Linked DNA regions of Homo sapiens: all the other regions are linked to region 3. The links are contacts of gene promoters, found by promoter capture Hi-C in human tissues and cell types (Jung and others, 2019). All regions are on one chromosome and are shown on one strand. Each heading gives the region's core, a stretch centred on a gene start or on the middle of the fragment in contact. The rest is flanking DNA. Distances are from core to core; before and after follow the strand shown.

What was found. Contacts are between HindIII fragments. The study calls those that stand out against the background at their distance.
Region 1: a contact is called between a fragment that was not itself captured here and the fragment with the promoter of MELK in region 3, in 1 of the 25 tissues and cell types used here (dorsolateral prefrontal cortex).
Region 2: a fragment that was not itself captured here is called in contact with the fragment with the promoter of MELK in region 3 in 1 of the 25 tissues and cell types used here (lymphoblastoid cells).

Annotation. Positions count from the first base shown.
Region 1 is chr9:37,194,122-37,198,722 of GRCh38, reverse strand. All of the region lies in intron 2 of ZCCHC7 (zinc finger CCHC-type containing 7), which reads right to left. Among named protein-coding and RNA genes, the nearest start is that of ZCCHC7, 76 kb to the right of the region's middle. The HindIII fragment of the contact is 4,086 bases long and covers 1,240-4,601 here.
Region 2 is chr9:37,410,823-37,415,280 of GRCh38, reverse strand. The region is part of intron 2 of LOC105376035 (a long non-coding RNA gene); the gene reads right to left. Among named protein-coding and RNA genes, the nearest start is that of GRHPR, 9.6 kb to the left of the region's middle. RefSeq lists a silencer at 1-269 and enhancers at 1,973-2,763, 3,549-3,598, 4,346-4,458. The HindIII fragment of the contact is 5,702 bases long and covers 301-4,458 here.
Region 3 is chr9:36,571,034-36,576,037 of GRCh38, reverse strand. MELK (maternal embryonic leucine zipper kinase) reads right to left here and starts at 3,143. Exons shown (of 18, transcript NM_014791.4): 1 at 3,031-3,143. RefSeq lists a silencer at 3,062-3,341 and an enhancer at 3,925-4,424. The HindIII fragment of the contact is 26,418 bases long and covers 1-5,004 here.

The sequences.
Region 1 (4,601 bases), core at 2,033-4,532, 620 kb before region 3:
GAATATACACAAGTTTGAGGGAGCAAGCTCTATCATTAGGACCTCCCACTTGAACAGAGGAGGCAAAGACAACATAAGTATGCCAACTGAATTCTTTCTCTTTTGGCACCTAACACTTTCCACTTTGTATTATCTTAATTCCTCATAGACTCTAGATCTTTAAAAATGAGGAAGACTAAAATAGACAGACGGGTGAGCACTCCAGGGCAAAAGTGACCACAAAGTAGGCTCAGAGGAAGGGATAACAGCAAGTTGTTCTGTGACAAAGAGAAGATGTGATCGGCTGGACAAATGAAGACAGAGACCACTAGGCTGATACACTGAGTTTGATATGAAATGTTAATTACCATTAAAACTTTTTTATTGAGGCATGATCAAATCTGTAGTTTACAAAGATTACTCTGGTTGTAACATTCTGGGAGAAAATAAAATTATTCAGTCTGAGAAAGACTCCATAGAACAAGTGATATTTTAGCTGGGTCTATTCATCTCACAGGATGAATAGAAGCTTTTTTGAGGAAGGGCTCTGCAGAATGATGAAATAAAATGAAAAAAGATATGAAAACATAACAGGGCACCACAGATTCTAGGACAAGTAAGAGGGCCAGAGTGGTTGGAAAACAGGTTATTTAGAGAAAGAGGTATCAGATTTGAAAGACAGGCTTAGGCTTTGTTATGAGGAACACTACAGTTTCCCATTTAATTACAAATTTTGTCATTTTATAAGATGGGAAATTCCCCTTTTTCCTTATAGACAGTCATAACATCAAGTGATGGGTGATTCAACAATTATTCATGATGACAGTGCCAACATCCCTGCTCATATATTAAATGAGACACTACCTGAAGTAGATAAAGTATCCACAATTTCACTTCAGAATATTTGGCTGCTATGCCAAAGAGACAACCACTTATAGTTGTCACTGGCCCAGATCTCACAGATCAGATTTCGGAAACTTTTTTTTTTTAACAAAACATCAAATCCAGAATAGTGCAATTGCTGTTTTGACTTTCGAAACAGAGAGGACTCCTGCATAGGAAATAAAAGCCAGGACATTCATTTACAGGATGGATTGTTTTACATTCTTACATTAGATCAAATAACTGAATTATTCTGGGTACTGCACACTTAATGACAAATCTACATCTCTGAAATCATAACACTGAGACTGGCATTTTCGTTTCCAAAATAAAAAACAGTTCACTGTGCCTTTCCTTCCAGACTGCACCCCATCACTCATCATCACAAGCTAGCATCAAGTGCTTTAAATAACAACATTTTCAATAAATGTGAACTCGGTTCTTTTTATACTTTGTTATAACTTCCTGTGTCTTTGACATATTCAAGAAGTGAAACTCATGCATAGCATGTTTATATTATTCCCTCCTTAGCAAAAGCTCACAGACAATGTCAGGTCTGGAGAGATAAGAGCTGCTTCCAGGACATGAATTCTCATGAGGATTAGGCAACCACCATCTGGGGCTCCAGAGTTTATCTGTAGCAGCTGCCTTCAAAGTATCACACTAGAGGCTGGGGGTGGGGGGAAGTCTAATTTTAAAGTGTTTAACAAGTTCCTCTACCTTGGCTTTGATTATCATTCTGGATTGTTTTTTCCACCTTATAAAAATAAAACATAGTGACCTTTTCTTCATAACACACAAATAACTTAAAACAGCACTATGTATTCAAATGATGAACTCAACACATACTCAAATGTTTAATACGTTACAATATATAACAGAATTTTTAATAATAATTTTAATAATGACTAAAATACTACCCAGTACCTAATGTTGTCATTAATACAAGAGCTTTATCCTTCACACAAAAAAGTGTATCCCCCAATTTTTTTAATTTCTACTGAGAAGGCTACAGATTAAAACAATATCCTAGATATTTTGGGAGGGTTTTTTAAATGTCCTCAAACGACATTAAAATAATCATAACACAATTTTATTAAACAGAAAGCTTTTTAATCAAATATTTATATAAAAACAGGAAATTCAAAAATGAACACAGGGCAAAAAGTTAATTTTAAATGCTCAGCTTTAAATAATAATCTGCTAAATCTGATTACTACATTAAGTTTTATAGTGCTAAAAATGGTCACTATGTAACAAAGCTAGATAGCAAAGAAAAACAAAATAGAAAAATCAAACAAAATAATCTCTATAAAGAATAGGTTCTACTATAATAAGTCCCAAAATCGCTGCACCACTAAAAATAATGCCTTTTTCTTTGCATCAGGTCTCCTTCCATTTAAAATATTCTTCTTTACCTGCCATAAAAATCATGTTATATTTGTTCATTTGAACAACCTGTGACAAAGGACGTACTATTAAAATTAACTAGACAAAATTATTGTTAGTTCCATCAGAGATCTGGCAAAGTGGCTGCATCTACAGATAAAGTTTCACTATAATAAACAGCTTTTTAAAGAACAGTTCACTCTCTTTCATTGTTCATCCAAAATACATAGCAAGCCTATTGTTGTACTGGACAGAGTGACCCAGAGAAACAAAAGGCAGAGGTTTGAGTGTGTCAAAATCATAAAACTGGCACATTATTTGATTCCTGGGATTTTCTTTCCATGCCCAAATATTTATATATATTTATATATCTGGGCCTGACACAAACATTCTAGTCTTATTTTTTGAAGTACCCTCATAATTCCTTCACCAAAATCAAATGCAGAAAATTCAAACTCTACACATCTAAAACTAAAGTGGACTGGGCCCTTCCTTTCAACTTCCCTATTGCTATCAGTAGTTGAATTATTTTAAAAAATCACACAAACTTACAATCTCTCTTCTCTCCATTAACATTTTTATCAAGTCATTAAATCGTGGTGACTCTAATTTCAAAATTATTTTGGCAATATTTTATTTACTTGCAGTAGTACCATTACCAACCTAGTATAAGTTACTCCTCAGAATTTGGACTAAATTATGAGCTTTGTAGGTAGTGTCTCTTCCAGCTAATTCGCATTAAATCACTACTACATTAAGTCTTCACTACATTAAATATGCCTCCCAAAACAATTTGCTCAAACTGTTCTCCCTATCTATTCTTCTGGTTTACAATGCCTTTCCCTTCCTCGACATATTTAAGTTCCCCCTTTACCAGATTCTCCAGGATTCACAAGCAATTGTTTCCTTTTCCATGCCACATTTCATATTCACCCCAGGATAGTCATCTTCCCACTCATTAAACTGCTACATTAGACGCAAAACACATTGGTTTGCATGACCACATCACAAACATTGCTAATGAGCAGCATTTTTCATATATCTAAAGGAGATGAGAAGAAAATAAACAAAAAAAACTTTATTTTGTAGTTTCTTCTGCAACGTCCCTAGTGGCTAAATAACAGTTATTTGCTGAATTAAACTTATCAACAATATGATTTAGGCATTTAGGTGTGCAAAGGGATGCACTTATAAGGGATCTGCTGTTACAAAAAATATGAGAATCTGGCTGGACGCGGTGGCTTACGTCTGTAATCCCAGCACTTTGGGAGGCTGAGGTGGGCGGATCTCCTGAGGTCAGGAGTTCAAGACCAGCCTTGCTAACATGGTAAAACCCCGTCTTCACTGAAAATACAAAAATTAGCCAGGTGTGGTGGTGCACGCCTGTAATCCTAGCTACTAGGGAGGCTGAGGCATGAGAATAGCTTGAACCCGGGTGGTGGAGGTTGCAGTGAGCCGAGATCACACCACTGCACTCTAGCCTGGGCAATAGAGTGAGACCCCATCTCAAAAAAAAAAAAAAAAAGAAAAAAGAGAATCCAAGAAATCTGAGTTCTTGTTCTGCTATACCCACCTGAGAGTAAGCAGTGACAATGATCTCAACAACATACAAAGACATCCTTTGGATAGAGAATTTGTATATATAATAACTGTTTGTAATATCAGCTATTCTTTGACAACAGGATTTTTCTCTTAAATTCCTTCTATTTGTTAGAGATTCAATTTGTCACCCAAGCTGTGGATTTATAGGATTTACATCCTTAAAACGAATTCCAGCATAATTTCACACAGAAGCCTTCCTGAAGTTAACCAGGACAACACCCAAATAAATCTTCCCTTTAAAAAGAATAAATGCTCCATGAAAATCATCAATACATCACTTAAGCTTAAGGCACAATATCTGTGCAACACCAAGCTCTATCCCAATCCTCCCAGTGCCACTAGAGTCTGTCTTAACCCCACACACTCTCTATTATCTGTTCAGACATGTTTTCCCAGTACCATTACTCCAAATAATTCCATTCCCTATACTAAATACACTGCTTCATCCTGCTTGATTCTCTACCTATATTATCTAACAGTCTTGCTCTTGAGTTGCAAGGCCGTTGCTACTTAACTCTACATTGACCTACCACTTACGATATGTAAGTAAGCTCTAAAGTCTCTTATAGGACCTCTGTATCATCTCTTAAATCACCAGGAATCAAGTACTCCAATTTGAGTTTTAACCATTATCTAATTTTCTATTAAAAATGCTAACTCAAAAAGAGAAATATTCTTTAATATATTAAAGGCCACTATCCTAGCATAGCAAGTACCCAATTTTTTAGAGTTTGTCTTCAATATATCCA
Region 2 (4,458 bases), core at 1,902-4,401, 840 kb before region 3:
TGTTTTTGTCTGCTTGCACAGAGCTCCTCGGAGAGCCTTCCTGGAGAAGGCAGCATTTGAGCTGAGCAATGAAGACAATATGCTTTGGAATGGTAGGAATGCGAGAGGGAGAAAAGGCATTTCTGGCAGAACAAACGGTGAGCAAAGGCCTGGAGGCTGGAGCGCGTCGGCATCGCCAAAGGGAGGAGAAGCAGCAGCAGCTGAGATGGGCAGTGGAAGGTGAGGTTAGATCAGGGTGTAAGGAGGCGGAGAGCGGCCCCAACGGAAGGGAACTTGCGCTGAGAGTGAGTGATCCGTGCCAGGCACTCCACACACAAGAGTTTGTTTAATCCCCACAAAGGCCAGTGAAGTTGATTTTAGGAACCCCAAGTTACAGACGAAGAAACTGAGGCTCAGGTCAGTGGAGGGACTTGCCCACGGTCACACAGCTGGTAAGGAGCAGAACTGGGTTTGAATAGAGATCATCTGACTGACTGTCTCCTCTCTGAGGGGGCCCTGCCTCTGGTCTGTGCTTGGTGAGGGGTGGGGCAGGGCACATGCTGGAAGCCCATTATACAGATATGGAAACTGAAGCCCAGATGGGGCGAACATTTTCCGATGACGCGCAGCAGGCAAGGCGCAGTGTGGCTTTCACCCCGGCCCTGCCTGGGCTTTTGTCTGACTGCTGGAAGCTGATGCTCTCGTACAAGAGACATGAGCAGCTGGCCACAGAGGGTAGCAGAGAGCCCAGTCGGGACCCCTTGGCCAGCCCAGACCCCTGGGAAATGTGCTCAGGCTTCAGCTCCCAGTGAGGTGTGGCCCTGGGGGGCAGGGTAACAGCTCATCAGCAGACCTGGGTTGCCCCCAGACTCAGCCTGCTGCAGCCTTGCACCCCACACAGAAAGCCACTTGCCCCTTTCTCAGCCCCTCAGTCTGCTCTTCTGGGGAGCAGAGGGCCCCAGCCTGGAAGATTCAGAGGGGCAAGAGAGCCACCGCTACTCAGACAGGATCGGGCTTCAAACTATGTGGTGTTCACCCCACAACAAGCCTTCAAGTGGGCACTGTTAGGATTCTCACTTTCAAGTCAAGATAACTGCGGCTCAGAGAGCCTCAAGTCCTTCTGCCTGAAGGACCTGCCCAAGGTCACCACGCTTGAGCTGGACTCAAATCCAGGTGAAGGTAACTGCTGTGGTTTGAACGTCCTCTCCAAAATGCCTGTTGAAATTTAATTGTGGCTGGGCATGGTGGCACATGCCTGTAATCTCAGCTACTCAGGAGGCCGAGGCAGGAGAATCGCTTGAACCCAGGAGGCAGAGGTTGTGGTGAGCCGAAATGGTGCCACTGCACTCCAGGCTGGGTGATAAGAATGAAACTCCATCTCAAAAAATAAAAATAAAATAAAATAAAATTTAATTGCTATTGTGACAGTGTTGAGAAATGGGTCCTTTAGGGGTGATTGGGTCATGAGGTGCTCTGCCCTCATGAAGAGATTAATGCAGTTATTGTAAGAGTGGATTACTTATGGCAGGAGTGAGCTTCTGATAAAAGGATAAGTTTGGCCCCATTTCTCTCTCTGTCTTGTGTGCATGCTGGCCATGTGATGCCTTGTGCCACAGGATGACTCTCTCCAGATGCTGGCACTATTTTTCTAGACTTCCCATCCTCCAGAACCATGAGCCAAATAAAGTTATTTTCTGTATAAGTTACCCAGTCTGCGGTATTCTGTGATAGCAGCGGAAAATAGATTAAGACAGTAACACTGAGGCATGTGACCACAACCCTCATGGCTGCCCTGTCCTGACCTGCCAGCCAACCCCAGTGGCTCCTTCAGCTACATCTGCTTATTCATCCATAGCCTCAAGGCATCATGGTTGCAGGCCTCTGGCTTTGTGCTAATGTGGCCCCCACATACATACCCCACTTCTCCCTCGGACCCTCTCCTTTAACCTTCCCAGCTTCAAGCCTGGGAGCGACACAGGGCAAGGACAGGGTAGGGTCCAAGCCTTTTCATGGTTCCAGTGCCCAACATGGGTCCCCACAGGGTGAACACTCTATAGACATATTCTGTGTAAGTGAGTACATCCCTGTAAATGGGGATACCATTCCCAGTTTTTAAGTAGGAAAGCTGAGAGTTAACAGGGGACAGTGCCCTGCCTGGGTCACCAGCAAGTTCGAGGCAGAGCAGTGCCCTGTCCAGGCTTCTTGCCATCCAGCCTCAGGTTTCCTCCCTGGGGCGATGCAGCCTAACGAAACTCCCTCAGCAGCTGGCATTACCTGAAGTCCTGCCCGTGAATCAGAAAGCTAGCACCCTGGGCTGCTTTTCTGCCAGGCATTGGCCAATCGCGCAGATGCCCAGCTGGCCCCTCTGGCACGCAAACACCCGGAATGTGCATTGGTTAGAGACCGCCAGGAGAAGATGACCGTGGTCAGATTTCTAGGGCTCCCTGGGAGGGAGTGCATTCTTTCTGTTGGGGATTTTTTACCGGAGCAGTTTCCTTAATCCTCCTCAGGGCATAGCTGGGATTTAGTAATGAGTTGTAACAGCCAGAATGGTTGATTCTCTGAGCCAGGACCCAGCTGTTCATTCTTGAACAAGCTGGGCTCCTCTTTTCCAGAGGTCCTGGCTCAGCTACCGCAGGGTGAGGTTGGGAGCAGGAATCCAGAACCAGCGTCACACCACCGCTCACAGGGGCAGAGCCTGTGCCCTCATTGTATAGATGGAGCCACGGAGGCCCAGAGAGGCTGTGAGGTGGGGTGGAGTCAAGAGCCAAGGTGGGCAGAACAACTTTGTGTGCAAAGACTCAACTGTGGGTGGAGCCAAGGGGAGGGGCTACCTCCCAGGACCGAGGCCAGTCTTCGGGCACCAGGAACAGGGCCTGCCAAGGTGTCATGGGACCTCAGTGCAGGACTGGTCCCACTGGGAAGCTTCTCCCCAGGAGACAAGCTCTGCGTTGCATTCTGTTTTATAGGGGTGCAGTCAAGGAGGATCCGTCCAAGCTGAGAAACAGCAGGAGTGACCCCTGGAAGCTGTGTCTTGGGTCGGGTCCCCAGAAGCAGGCTCTCTGCTGAGGATTTGTGAGCAAGTGATTGATTAAGGAAGTGCCCCCAGAATAAACCAGGAAAGGAGTGGGAAGCAGGAGAGGGGAGGGAAGGAAGACCAACAGTGCCATGTCTGGCCAAGTCCAGCAGGCAGGTGCTTCATTGTGATCCCGAGGGCCGCTCTGGAATGCAAGTTACATCTCAGGGTTATTGAAACCCCAGGCAAGGAAGCTGGGCTTCCACACTCCCCACACCCCATGAGTTAGCATCATCCAAGGAGATCTGGGCAGAGTGCAGCTTCCTGGAGGAGGAGGCATGGGCCTTGCTGTGTGACGACCCAGCGGGGTGTGCAGGTTCTGAGGAAAAAGGGTTTGAGCAGAACCTGAGGGAGGAGCTCAGGCATGCTGCTTGAAGGCCAAGGTTGCTCTGGGTAAGGACCAAGGTCCCATCCCTGATTTAGGACAGGCCAAGGAGGAGCAAGGGGATGGAGGCAGGGGATGGCTCCCTGCAGGCCCAGGTGAAGTTCATGCTACCATTTCAGCAAAAGTCCCATAAACCACCTCAGGAAATCCCTCTGTCATCTGCCGCTGTTTGGGGCCAAAAGCTTGAACTGTGATGAATTTTGTGAAAGGGAGAACTGCCTCATTCTGCCAAAGCCGTTCAGAAGTGAGTCACTAGCCCAGAACAGGCCCCACATAGCTGCACCAGCTCAGACTCCATCTAGCTGCACCTGCAGGAGCTAAGGCTCGAGGTGGACATCGGGCCTGGGCCCCAGGGCAGAGTCATGACCAACAGGGGGCAGCCCAGGGAGCTACTCCCCAGCCTTCAGTGGGCCCCACTTCCCTTCCCTCCTCCCCTCCCTGAAGGCCCCTCCCAGACCGCTTGGCCTCCGGCCTTGCCTCCTCCAACCTGATCTCCTGGGGTTGCTCAAGGGTCTCCTCTAAAAAGCAAATCCGGTCTTGTCTTTCCCCTGCCTGCCGCATTCCGTGGCTCCTCACTGCTCTCAGGAGAAAGACCAAAGTCCCTGTGTGCTCCCAAGCCCTCTCCTGATGATGCAGAGGCGTGGCCCATAGGGACTGAGAGCTGCTCACTTCAGGCAGAAGCCAGGCATCCTGGCAGCCCCTGAGAGCCGCCCAGCTGGCCAGAAGGACCTGCTCCCAGGCCTCCCTTTCCCTGTAATTCATATATAGAAAGCATCTAAATCAGGAGCCAACCCTCCACCAGAGGGAGCGGCGCCCTGGAGGTGGAAGTGGAGCTTTTCTTAGTCATTACATTTGGTTTTGTTTTGGGGGAAAAAAACAAAATGAAACAATTAAGGTCTTATTTTCACAATCACCTGTGGAATGAGGAGGCTTCCAGATGGTATTTGGTGAGAGCACCAGGAACCTTGTGGTCCTGTGAGGGCATTCAGGGGTAGGGAGTCTAACTCATCACCCAATC
Region 3 (5,004 bases), core at 1,894-4,393:
TAAACTGGAACCTCATCCTAAAAACAAACAGGAACCATAGGACTAAGAAATTCCAAAAGGCAATAAAAACAGTAAAAGTATAGAGGTCAACCTAAGGCTCAGAAATCTTTGGAATCCTGATACAGAAGAAAAAAGAGAGCAGGAGAATGGAAATGGAGGAACACTGGACTATAAATCTGAATGCACATGTTTACATTCCATGCAAAGGACTGGGCTATTTCAAATTGTCACTCAGAAAGAGAAAGCAATTTGTAAGATGCTGGAATTCACTTCCCAGATTAGGGATTTAAGAGTGTCATAATTAACTTAATAGACTTCTCCCAAAAGAGTTATAAACATCCCAGTCATGGCCTCTGGAAAACTAGCAGAGATGGGCAAGTTGTTTATTTAACAACTAAGGTAAGACTGAAGCCATGCACTTTTTTTTTTCTTTCTTTCTTCCATTTTCTCTATCTACCCGCTTCTCTCAAATTACATCATGTCTTTGGATGAGTAATACCAATGTGGGCCTAGATTATAGCTACTGAATCAAGGGAATATCGTTGTTGCTGCAATGTGAGAAAACTGGTGCTTACATTACAAACTCCTACACTAATAGCAGATTATACTTGATTTGTAAATCTTTGTGAATGTGGAGCTGGTTCTAAATATTCTCATGTGCCCTGTTTATCCTCTAGAGTTTGTTAATATAGAATACAGAAAAGCCTTGAGAACAGAGTAACCCAACTTTGTAGCTGCTGAAGGAGGTATATTATCAGTCAACGCGGAAGACAGCCTCTCAACTGTGAATAATGAAGAAGGAAATTAGACCCCAATCAGACACCTGAGTGCCCTTCTGGGCTTGACTAAATAAATAGAAGAATTGGGGGTATATATAATTGGGTTTTGTTTTTGTTTTTGTTTTTGAGACGGAGTCTTGCTCTCTTGCCCAGGCTGGAGTGCAGTGGCGTAATCTCGGCTCACTGCAACCTCCGCCCTCTGAGTTCAAGCAATTCTGCCTCAGCCTCCCAAGTAGCTGGGATTACAGGTGTGCGCCACCACGCCCGGCTAATTTTTTGTATTTTTAGTAAAGATGGGGTTTCACCATCTTGGCCAGGCTGGTCTTGAACTCCTGACCTCACAATCCATCTGCCTCGGCCTCCCAAAGTGCTGGGATTACAGGCGTGAGCCACCGCGCCCGGCCTATAATTGGGGTCTTTAACTTCTCAGAAGAGCAAGGAATTGGGATAATGAGAAGACGTTTATGGTTAAATTTTAAAGGATAGCAACAAATTGGGGGCATTTTTTAACAATATTATTTGGGCTATTCTATTACTTGCCGCATAAATACATTTACCTTATCTACAGAGCTTGGAAAGACACTGATGCTGAGGATAATTTCAAACAGGAAGTAGAATACAGAATGGTTTTTTGGGTTTTGTCTGTTTATTTGCTTGAGACAGGGTCTCGTTCTGTCACCTAGGCTGGAGTGCAGTAGCTAGATCTCGGCTCACCGCAACCTCCGCCTCCTGGGTTCCAGAGATGCTCGTGCCTCAGCCTCCCCAGTTGCTGGGATTACAGGCATGCGCCACCATGCCCGGTTAATTTTTTTTTTTTTTTTTTTTTTTGTATTTTTAGTAGAGACGGGGTTTCGCCATGTTGGCCAGGCTGGTCTAGAACTCCTGGCCTCAAGTGATCCGCCCACCTCGGCCTCCCCAAGTGCTGGGATTACAAGCGTGAGCCACCACGCCGGGCTCAGAATGGTTTATAATGTGGCCTGTAACACATTTAATTAGCATCCTGCCCTGCTCCCTTGCAAAGGCTTCTGGGAGCACCAACAATGAGGCACTCATTGGGATTGATCTGCCCATCTAGTTGGTCCACAGTAGTTACACAGAAAGGACAGACCCTTGGGAGAAACAAGCCCACGAAGGCCCAGTAAGGGCTTTTCTGATTTTTCTGATTTTCTAGCCAGACTCCATGGGAAACAGAAACCAAAATTTAAACCAAAGTTAGGAACACTGGCCTCTAAACAACAATCCAGGCTCCTGATACTCACCTCATTCCACTAACAAAGGAGAAATACCAAAGGTAATTACCCGTCCTAAGTGCTAGGGACCTGATTCCTCTCTTGGGCAGCCTTCCCTGAGTCTACCCTTTCCAGCTCCCACAACCCTACACCAGGTTTCTTGGTGGGAGCAATCCTGCTGCTCCTATTACTGATACAGCATTCGGTGAAAATTCCCCTTTTAGGCCGGGCGTGGTGGCTCACGCCTGTAATCCCAGCACTCTGGGAGGCCAAGGCGGGCGGATCACCTGAGGACACGAGCTGGAGACCAGCCTGGCCAACGTGGTGAAACCCCGTCTCTACTAAAAATACAAAAAATGAGCCGGGCGTGGTGGCGGATGTCTGTAAGCTCAGCTACTCGGGAGGCTGAGGCAGAAGAATCGCTTGAACTTGGGAGGCGGAGGTTGCGGTGAGCCGAGATCGCGCCATTGCACTCCAGCCTGGGCAACAAGAGCGAAACTCCGTCTTGAAGAAAAAGAAAAAAAATTCCCCTTTTAGTGTGAGCCTCTGAAGCCACTACTCTGGGGAGATGATAGGAGAGGATGGATTTGGACTCTGAAAAGGTAGTGATAACACATCTCCTTTTTTATTGCACTGCCCCAGTAAACTGAGTTGTACAAACAGAAAAAACTCGAAACCCTTCTGTCAACTTTTTTCGCGGGGAAGAGTCACGGAAACTGGAAACGGGAAATGGGAATTCACGTCTATCGCAGCCTCCTAGGTGGCAAACGCTTAGCCTGAACACCTCTTCAATAACCCTGTTAAGTAGACACGGTCATTATCCCCACTTACGGAGAAGAAAACCGCGGGTCGGAAAGGTCAAATATCTTATCCAGGGAACAGGGCTGGTAAAGCGCGGGGCTCCGATGAAATCCTCCAGTCTCCCGAGAGCCAGGAGCAAACTGGGTTTGGGCCGCTGCGCCCCGCACAGCCCAGACCCCAGCCATCAACTGCGACTGCGGCGGGCAGGCGGGAGAACTGACCTGAGGGGCGGAGGGCACGGCTGAGCGGCGCCCGACAGAAGGACAGGGGCCTGCTGTCCTGAGAGACGCGGCTGGTACGGCGTTCCTAAGAATCTTTTCGATCGCCGGGTTGTGGCCGCTTCCGCCCGCCAAGGGAATCAAATCTCCCGGGCCGGAAGGGGCGGGGACGCGGCGGGGGCGCGCGCGGCGCCGGATCCCAGGGAAGCGGACGCGCACGGCAGGCGGGGGCGCGCACAGTGCCGGGGGGTTCTCACCGGGGCAACGGCTCGCGGTCGCTGTGGAGCCGTGAAAGGGATGGCCGGGAGGTCCACTGGGCTGCGAGGGGTGACTTGAGGCCTTGGTCTTGCCCCGGAGGGCACGTGATGATTTTCCAGGTGGCGTGGATATGCCAAGTCTCCACAGAACCCAACTTTCTTACGTTCTCTTCCTAAAATTGACGTGCCCTCTGGCAGTCACAGTTCTCATTTTCGTCCTCCCTTGCCCACTGGCCGTTCTCCCACCCAGCAAAGACAGGAATACCTCCCCCTCTCCAAAATGTGTTGCCACGAGGAATAAGAACCCCAGTAGCTGAGACTACAGGCACGCGCCACCACGCCTGGCTAAATTATTTGTGGGTAGAGACGGGATCTCGCTATGTTGGCCAGGCTGGTCTCGAACTCCTGGGCTCAAGCGATCCTCCCGCCTCAGCCTCCCAAAGTGCTGGGATTACAGGCGTGAGCCACTGTATCCGGCCCAGAAAATCTTTAGACAAATTAAACTTTACAGAGTTGAATTGACCAAAGAATGAGTCCAAAATCCAGTAATCCCTGGAACCAAAATAGGTTCAGAGTGATTCGGGCTGCCATATGTTCAAATAACATTTATGGACAGAAAAAGGAAAATGACTTACAGAAATTGCAGTCAAGTATGGAAACAGCTGGATTGGTTGCAACTCAACCTCTGACTATTTTGAGCACTGTTTAAACAGTTGGCCACCTGTGATTGGCCAAAACTCCGCTGCTGTGATTGACTGAGACTCGCTACTTGTTACAAGGTTACAGTCTCTTTACACATTTACAATTGTAGTTGTCTACAATTCACTATGTATGGAGAAACTGTTAGGCCAGGTGCAAAGGCTCACATCTATAATCCCAGCACTTTGGTGGGGGGGCGGGGGCAGATCATTTGGGGTCAGGAGTTCGAGACCAGCCTGACCAACATGATGAAACCCTGTCTCTACTAAAAATACAAAAAATTAGCCGGGCTTGGTGGCGCGAGCCTATAATCCCAGCTACTCAGGAGGTAGAGGCAGGAGAATCTCTTGATTCTCTCTGCTGGGAGGCAGAGGTTGCAGTGAGTAGAGATCGTGCCACTGCACTCCAGGCTGGGCAACAGAGCAAGACTCCGTCTCAAAAAAAGAGAAAGAGAGAAAGAGAGAGAGAAAAGAAAGAAAGGAAGAGAAGGGGAAGGGAAGGGGAAGGGAGGGGAAGGGAGGGGAAGGGAAGGGAAGGGAAAGGAAAGGAAGGGAGAGAAAGGGAGAGAGAGAAAGAAATAAATTGTTAGTCTGAACTTAAAATGCATAAGGAGGCAGCTTTATGCTAAACTTAATTTAACATGGTCATCTGAATCTTCAGCAAATCATAATCTTTTTGCTGGTGGAGGGTCTTGCCTCCATGCTGCTGATTGATCAGGGTGGTGGTTGCTAAACGTTGGGATGGCTGTGGCAATTTCCTAAAATAAAACAACAATGCTGCATCGATGGACACTTCCTTTCATGAAAGATTTCTCTGTAGCATGTGATGCTGTGTGATACCATTTCATCCACAGCAGGACTTCCTTCAAAGTTAGTTCTCTGAAATCTTGCCACTGCCTTATCAACAAAGTTTATGGAATATTCTAAATCTTTTGTTGTTATTTCAGCAATGATCACAGCATCTTCACCAAGAGGAGCTTCCATCTCAAGAAAGCACTCTCTCTTTGCTCATCCGTAAGAAG